Linked DNA regions of Homo sapiens: region 1 is linked to region 2. Evidence: promoter capture Hi-C in 16 types of primary human blood cells and fetal thymus (Javierre and others, 2016). All regions are on one chromosome and are shown on one strand. The core of a region is centred on a gene start or on the middle of the fragment in contact, and the rest is flanking DNA. Distances in the headings are between cores, read along the strand shown. Region 1 overlaps MAP2K6 (mitogen-activated protein kinase kinase 6). Region 2 holds the start of KCNJ16 (potassium inwardly rectifying channel subfamily J member 16).

Region 1 (4,203 bases), core at 367-2,866, 520 kb before region 2:
ACCAAAGCCTGAGCTCCTTAACCTTTTGTTCCAGAGGGCAGACATTTTTAAGAAAGGTGAATGTTAGAGAAGGTTACCTGATGAGCAAGCTTCTTTCCCATAATTCAGAGAACTGTGAATGTACTTAGAAATACACTACAGGTCTTCACCAGATGAACTAGATTTTATAATTTTAAAATATAATACTGAAAGCTAGTTTGAAGTTTCAGAAGCCATGAATTATGGGGAAGGAGTAGTTTTTTATTTTATTTTATTTTTCTGATCTCAAGTTGTTTGTCCTGTTGTATGTTCAATACTTGGGGAGATAAGAGCGAGGTACAGCTGTGGTTTTCAGACCATATTCAGTGGTGCCCCTGAGGGTCTCTTGTGAACAGAAGGGAAAAAGAGTGTGATGAAGGTGAACTCTGCCTATCTGAACCTCTGTCAACCTCCAGTCAGAATATCTGGCTTCTAGTATTGTTCCTTTTAACTGGAAGTCTCTGTGGCCATTAAAAACTTGGGAACGTTGGATTAAATGACCACTTTAGGACTTTAAACAGTCTCAAATATGGGAAATTTTATAGCCAACCACGGCTGTGAGTCCCTGGCTTTTGCCGTACTGAGTATGCTCACAGAGATAGGGAGATAGGTGGCCAGAAGACAGGGTCATTTAATTTTAATTGAGCATAAATCATTTTGAAAGAAAAATGCAAGGAATTGTTGTATGACAGCCATGCATTATAGATCCTTACATGCGACATTTTCCTAAAGTGGTTGAGAATGACCTGATCTTTGTTCACCGTCTCAGTGACAAGGCGTGGAGTGACTGGGCTCTTCATATGCAGTGGAATTTTTGCATCTCTAGGTTTGCAGAGGCAGGAGTTACCGTTTTTGTTCATTGACCTATCAGAAAAAAGCAAATCCTTTGGACAATGTTGACACAGACAGGGGTACGGTCTGAGACTCAAGCTAACAGAGCTACCCCTTGCTGCCTTTTGCAAAGGTGTTGTAGGTGGAGAAGGGTAATGGAAACCTGGTACAGCCTTTAGAAGTTGGAAGCTATGGTGGTGTATCTGTCATGAACTGCACACAAGGGAATGCTTAAACACCAGCTGAGTCATATCAGGTGCCTTGTACACACACATAAAGAGTCTGGTGAATTCTGACAGTGTTCTGTTTGCCACTAGAGCAAATTTAATAGCTGGGGTTTCACAGCAACTGTTTTAGAAAACTATATGTGCCAAAAATTTACATTGGGCAGCAGTTTATAGTGTTCTTGGCCAATCTGCATAAAAGCCACTTGAGGAGGTTTGATTAAGAAAATTGTGTTTATCTCCTGTATTACCTCTGTGTTTGATTTATTCTTTAGTCTCAAATTTATTTTCTGAGTGGACTGATTTTCTATATGAACTGAAATGATGTTTTAATAGAATAATAGGTATTTTTAGAGGAAAAGTATTTTTTTGTGTAATTTGCTTACACAACTAGGACATACTTCCTATGATACTGAATCATCAAATTGAGTCATTTAAAGCTGAAAGAGGTGTTAGGAATGTAGTTTCACATTATTTAAATACATGAACAGTTTTCTATATATTTTGTGAAAATCTTGATGAGACACTAGAATTTCTTTATGGAATTGAACTTTACAAGAATTTTAATAAAAGAGGTGGATTTCTTCAGCTTTCTTTGTGCTTCAGTTTCATAGCTGAAAATGCTGCTTCCGTTTATTAATATGGACTTTGTAAGGAAACACAACAACACGTTTTCTTACCTTCTGTAAATTTTGTGATAGACACATGTTATTTGTATATATGATTGATTGTTTGCCTGTTGCACCCTAAAGTTATTTTCAAACCATGTTTATTGCAAAGAGAGCCTTTGGGCAAGTGGAAAATGCCCTGATGCTAGAATGAGGTAGTTCCATAAGCTAGTTAGGAGCTTGCTACCTCTTCTTGGTACCTGAAATATTCTGAAAGGATATCGGAGAGGTCCTATGCACCCCTGTCTTTCAAAACCCACCTCCAGCACTTCAAAGTAGTGTCTCTGGAGAGTTTAAAATAAAAGAATGAATGCTATTCAGTGGATTCCCTCATTGAGGCTCCCATCTTTCCTGCCAGGTGCAGCTTTTTCTGGTTGGAATCATCTCTTCTTTACGGATTGCCGCATTGTCTCTTTGTGAATGAGGCAGGCTGAACTGTAGAGCATGAAACTCATTAGAAGTTTATAAAGTAAAGACCTGTAAAGCATGTGGGTGGAATGTTTCCATGCTCTTGAGGTGAATATTAAATTTAAATTCTGGCCTTTGGGAACTCTTTGCTTGTGAGCTGAAGAAGGAAAGAAGGAGTTGGGGGTGTATATCTAACTGTGTTTTTCTATATGGAAATATATGAGCATCAAGTGATAACTTCAATAAGGCCTCAGGATTGTATTTAAAATACCTGTTTTGTGGGACAGCATGCCTTTGTTTTCTTTGCCTGTTGGCTTTGGTGGCTCCAAACATTTTCATTTTAGGCTAGCTTTCCTGTCACCCAGGTTGTGTGCATTTTTTTTTTCATTTGAACTATTGTTTATCATTATTAATGATGTTATCTCCAAATCCCAAAGCCAAGGAAATAGCCAGTATGCAGGACTTGCAGTAGATATAAGCATTGGTGTTAACATAGGTTAAGTTTTGTTAGTGTTCCCAGAAATATACTGAATTGAGGGATAATGTAGCTTTAAAGAAATTATGTTTCTTTTTAACATTTGGAGAAGCCACCTGTCCTGGGTCCCTATTCTTGAGAAATTCATCTTTTCATGCAAATAACATTGATGGGGGACAAGACTGGATGATTGACTTCTATCAGTCAGTAGACAAGGAAGTATAATAATTGCCAAAGGTGAGGGTAATTTTGCCTTACAAGTATGTAGGTCATTCTGTGGTGGGATTTCCCATCACATCTAGTAAAAAACAACCTTTTCATTTCCCTCCTTTCTAATCCAAGATCATATTTTTAAAAAGTAGGTTTCTGATGTGCCATGAAATATTTCTGTGAATCTGTGTTTTTGACCAAGGAAACAGCTGAGATATTAAACCATGTGGTTGTTCCACGGTTCATCTGGCTACCGTTCTGGGTCCCCTCTGACCACCTCAAAAAGAAAATGAAATTGGGAGATTAAATCAAGCTTGACCTCCTCTTTTAATGAGGAACTTTCACGTTGACTTCCTATCTCAGGATATTCTTCAGTTTCATACTGCTGAGGAGAAAGGAACAAGCTGCAGACACTGTAACTGGTCTCCAGATGTGTGTATATGCGTGTAAAACTTCACACCGTGTGTGTTGTGTTCAATGTTGTGTCAATCTACAAACTGACTCAAACAACAGTTTAACGATAGAGAAGACAGTGATAATGGCAAAAAAAACACCCAACCACCTTTTTCCGTCAAAGTGCTTGCTATGGCTTTCATAGCTGGGACAAGTAACATTAAGTATTCAGGAGCAAAGTGTTCTTGAAAGAAAATGGTGTGTTGATCTCATAAGAAAATGTACAACCAATAAAAGACATTTTAAAAAGCGTAGTGAGTCTGTACATTAATTGAGTTGTTGGAAACCCTATATTCCAGGAACATGGTATAAAAGGCTCTCCCGGTAAAAGCTTTCCTGGACTATATATTCTTGTTATTCTTTCTCTATGCTTTTCCTATTTCTACCACCGCACTTCCCAAACAGACTAGAACAAAACCTAACAACACAACAGTATTGCAGTCGTATTAGTCTGTTTTCATGCTGCTGATAAAAACATAACTGAGACTGTGCAATTAACGAAAGAAAGTGGTTTAATGTACTCACAGTTCCACGTGGCTGGGGAGGCTTCACAATCACAGTGTAAGACGAAAGGCATGTCTCAACATGGTGGTAGACAAGAGGAGAGAGAGAGCCCAGCAAAAGGGTAACCCCTCATAAGACCCTCAAATCTCTTGAGACTTACTCACTCTCATGAGAACAGTATGAGGGAAACTGCCTCCATGATTCAATTATCTCCCACTGGGTCCCTCCCACAACACATGGGAATTATGGGAGCTAAAATAATTTGGGTGGGGACACAGCCAAACCATATCAGCCGCCCTGAAGACTCATTAGAAAATCATTTCAAGGCCAAGCGTGGTGGCTCACACCTGTAGTCCTAGCACTTTGGGAGGCAGAGGCAGGCAGATTGCCTGAGCTCAGGAGTTTGAGGCCA
Region 2 (4,357 bases), core at 410-2,909:
CCTCCCGTCTTGCTCTTCTCCATGGTCTGTTTTTACGCTGTGTTTAGATGCCTCGTCTTCTCAGATCAATCTAAATGCTCACCCACATAAAATCACCTTTCCTGAAATTGTATTTGCAGAGCAGATGGAGTCCTGTCCATTTTTGCGTGTGTGTTTTTTTTAAGTCTTTTGAGATAGAACTCTAACAAAGTGTGCTCTGCTTTCAAACAAGGCAGTAATTGAGCAGCATTAAGTGATAATATTGAACAACATCATGGATAAACCACAATGAGAGTTGCTGCAATTGTTATGGAAATGTAGGCATTTGTTTAGTCTTCAATTTTTTTTTTTAACAGAAAAGGCAACCTCTGCATTCACTGCTTACCTGAGATTTATGGATGAATGAAAAGATAGGTCCCTTGGAGAGTTCAAACTCTTCTGCAGATATTGTGTAACAGATTGCAAAATAGGTCTTCCTATCAGAATATGTATACCTTAGTGACAGCTATGAGTTTGGAACACGAATTATCTATCTGTGGTAGGTGTTGTCGTTGTTGCTATTATCATCCCCATTTGACAGTTGAGAAAATGGAGTTGCAGAAAGGTTAAGCAGTTTCTCAGTGTCACACAGCTAGTAAGTGGCGGTGCCAACATAGAAGTCCACTTCCTCAAGTGTTCATGCTTTTAAAAATGGAAACAAAACTCTAACAACCGTCAAACAGCAACGATTGTCAGAACCTAGAAAAGGCCTCTTAAATTTGCAGTGTTAACCAAGCCTGATGTGGTTCCCTAGATCCCCTGGCTGCCACCGCTCTGTGAAGCAAAGGAAAAACTAATTCCTTGCTAGCATAACACTTCTATTGAGCATTCCTGGACACAACTCCCCCAGGTTCTGAAGAGCCTAGGGTTGCTATTTGTTTAGTTCCCCATGGCTGCTTTTCACATTTTCTGGATCTTTCTCTTGATTCTAGCATTATAAGTCTACCTCTTCCCTGATCACTCACTTTTCTACCTCCTGGAGAGCACTGACCACGGGATCACCTCACCATTTTATTTAACCCATTAGGACTCAATGCCAGGCAAAACCTATACCACAGCCTGCATTGTATTCACCATCTCAGGCTCGAGCTCTGATTCCTGGGGTTGAGGAAAGGAAGACTTTCCAACCCCAATTTCTGCCATCCATGTTGATTAGTCAGAGGGCTAATCAACTGTGAACTCATGTTCTTTGGAACTAGGCAGCACAGGAAAAATAATCATTAAAGGTTTGGTAAATAAAAGACTGAATGGATGCTTAGCTACCTGTCATTATCCTGTCTCGCTTTTCGTCAGCATGCAATCCCAATCCTCAGCTGTTAAGATGTAGACAAAGAGTTCTGATGAAAGGGATTTATTTGTACTATTCCAACAGAGTCTGAAAACTAGCAGGAGCATTTCCATAGGTCGTCTCTCAACAATCCTGTCTGTAAATATTTGAGTCACTTACAGGCATTGTTGAGCATAGTTCTGGCCCAGCAAATCTTCCTCCTTTGTATCCCTGATCAAGTAAAAACTTAGTCAGGATATACTTGGGTGACCTTCACACTGTACCTCCTCCAGAGGTACAGAGGTGGTGACGTAATCACTGCCACAGCTGACTGGCTATGGCTTGCTTGATAAGACGCCAGGGGCTACCTATGTAGATTCCCAGGGAGGAACTGTAGGAACAAACCGGTGTCAATGGTTAACCCAGGTTCTTGGTGTCTGGAGCTTTTCTTTCCTTTATTATTAACTAAAGAGCATTCTCTACCATTGCCCAGCTGAAAGCACCTAGCTCATAGATTCTCTGTGGGGAGAGTGAATAAAGGTAAGTGCTATTATTGCTATGGATACAATGTCATTCAGCCTATGTTTTGCTCTTGCTGGCATCTGTGTTTGGGGAGCAGCAACACTCTGTTTCCAGCAAACGTAAATATTAATGATCAATTAAATGCAATTAAGATAATTTAATTTTTTATCCAAGTGCTTTAAGTAGGAATCAAACAGTGTGTCATATTCCTTAAGTTATTTTGAAGCTTTGGTTAAAAGTAGTCTCACATTGGTGTTTACAGAGTCTGTTAAACAGCCCTTGCCTGCTATTATATTTGTAAATGTCTAAAAGTGGCTTTATTATATTCATACCACATGGAGTATTCTGCAATGTCTTTCAAAACCAGATTTTTGCATCCTGTATGCACTTATGAACATATAATTGCAAATATTGAAAAATATGTATTTTATACCCCCCTCTTAAAAAGCTCAGAGAAAATACACGTTAACTTTTTTTTATAGTTGTCTATAATCATTGAAAGGAAATAAGAGATCTATTTTTTCTAGATTTATTTTAACATAAATTGAAAGTGAAGAATTTTCTCCTTTTGTTTTCACCTTAATCCCTCTAAAGCTTTTTTTTTTTTCTTATCATTTAAAAATCTTAAAATTTTGTTTTGAGTATTTAGTCAGAAAAGTGTGAGCTTGTAAAACTTTGCTCTCTGGATGCCACGAATTCTCTGACATATATAATTGAACAGTTTTCCTTGTTGGTATATTTAGGTAGTAAACAATAACATTTCTATAAGCCAGATGAATTTTGATCATGTGTATTACATGGACTGAATGGTCTTTAGAAAAAGAGTATTGGAGTATTTCTGCTAAATATTACTCTTATGGCTAGTAAGAGCCAGATCCTGAAGAAGAAAAAAATGTATGAATGCACCTTTGTTACTTTAGTATGGGAAATGTAGACTAGCCACTCTTTATGTCAGATTTTAACCAATAAAGGAACATGAAGTACCCAAACCACAGCTGTTTTGCAGAATACATTTAAGGAATTCCTGAAATTCAGCCAAAAAGAATTTAAAAGTGAACAAGGTCCAGAGTTCAATTCAAATCAAAAGAGAGAGAAAGAGAAAGAGAGCCTGAGTAACTTAGAGATGTAATCCTGCTTGTTTATTTTTAGAACACGATAATTGTGATAAATCTAAGATTATTAGTCTCATATACAACAAGACTGACAACCTTTGAAACTGCAAGAAAAGACTGCTTTGGGAGAGGAATTCAATATTCTATTTTAATGCATTTTTCTCAACAAGAATTTCAGCATGAGAGAGAACAAGAGTCTTCAAGGATATTGAAAAATATATGTTTCTTCTATTATATAGATTAGTGGTGAGTACAAGCTAAGACCTGGATATAAATTAATTGAAAATTAGAAATGGAAAAAAAGTATAGTTTGAGGCAAAATATATAAAGGGCATTGAAAGTAAATATTTGGCACCGAAATAATACAGGTATTTTCTTTGTTAAATTAGTAAAACCTACCACTTGTCCTCATACAAGAACTTGAGTTCCAGCATAAGAAGATCATTGGGAGCCATCTTCAAAGCTACCTCCCACCATTTTCCATTTATAAATGGAACTGTCAAAGAAGTCTTCACTAAGGGGGTGATATTTAGCCAAAGACCTGGAGGTGGCAAGGAAGTGAGCAACGTAGAATCCTTGGAGAAGAGCAGTTCAGGCAGATGGAACAGCCCTAAGGCTGAGGTGTGCCTGGCGAGTTAACAAAACAGCAAAGAGGCCAGTGTGGCTGAAGCAAAATTGCAGGAGTGGGAGTAGCAGGGAATACATGAGGTCCTGTAGATGTGCCATAATATTTACCAAGACAGATACGATTCTGCAAGCTACAAGTGTCAGAGAAGGTTTTTGAGATGTTAGAAAAGACCATGGGAAGCGTAGATTTAGATAAGTGGAGAGACAGTGAGGAGTATTGCGGATGACAGGCTGATGATACAAGTGAACAAAATATAGATGTGAGAATGAGCAGAATTAGCATAAGCATGAGAGCAAATGAAGTTAGGCTCCTCCAGTGTACCCAATGGAGTAAATAAAAAGGTTTCTGAACATCAAGGCTGTGCTGAGGCTAACAATATGCTCACCAACATGAAACTTGTAAGGGAAACACAAATCTCAACACAGAAGCCAGGCCCTCTGTAGCTCAAACCAGATGTTGTCAAGAGACAGGAAATTAAGAAATCTAAGTAAAAGTAGATTTCATGGACAGTAAACAGAATTAGAAGTCTTTCTCCAAATGCCTCTTTCCTGGTTAGGCTGTGTTTTTTTTTTTTGTTTGTTTGTTTTTTCTTGCATTTTAGTGAGTCCATCCATCAGCTTTGGCATCTCCAAATGGCCCCTTTGCTGGAAACCATGGTAATAAGGGCTCATCTTCTGAGATGTCTATGGGAAATGAAAGTAAACTCAAATAGCTGGTTCTTGGTTAAATTTTTCAGGCCCAAGGGCCCAGATTCAGAAAAAAAAAAAAGATAGTTTATCTGAAATGCATTGCATGAAGAATGCTTTCCTA

Evidence for each region. The method cuts DNA at HindIII sites, captures the fragments that hold promoters and counts their contacts. A CHiCAGO score of 5 or more calls a contact.
Region 1: a fragment that was not itself captured here is called in contact with the fragment with the promoter of KCNJ16 in region 2 in 1 of 17 cell types (M0 macrophages); the score reaches 5.4 in M0 macrophages.

What each region holds. Positions count from the first base shown.
Region 1 is chr17:69,550,325-69,554,527 of GRCh38, forward strand. MAP2K6 (mitogen-activated protein kinase kinase 6) reads left to right here. Exons shown (of 12, transcript NM_002758.4): 12 at 1-3,541. Among named protein-coding and RNA genes, the nearest start is that of LINC01483, 42 kb to the right of the region's middle. The HindIII fragment of the contact is 3,058 bases long and covers 88-3,145 here.
Region 2 is chr17:70,073,566-70,077,922 of GRCh38, forward strand. It overlaps KCNJ16 (potassium inwardly rectifying channel subfamily J member 16), which reads left to right and starts at 1,660. Exons shown (of 4, transcript NM_170741.4): 1 at 1,660-1,825. It overlaps LOC105371881 (a long non-coding RNA gene), which reads right to left and starts at 1,242. Exons shown (of 3, transcript XR_934952.3): 1 at 1-1,242. The HindIII fragment of the contact is 12,238 bases long and covers 1-2,031 here.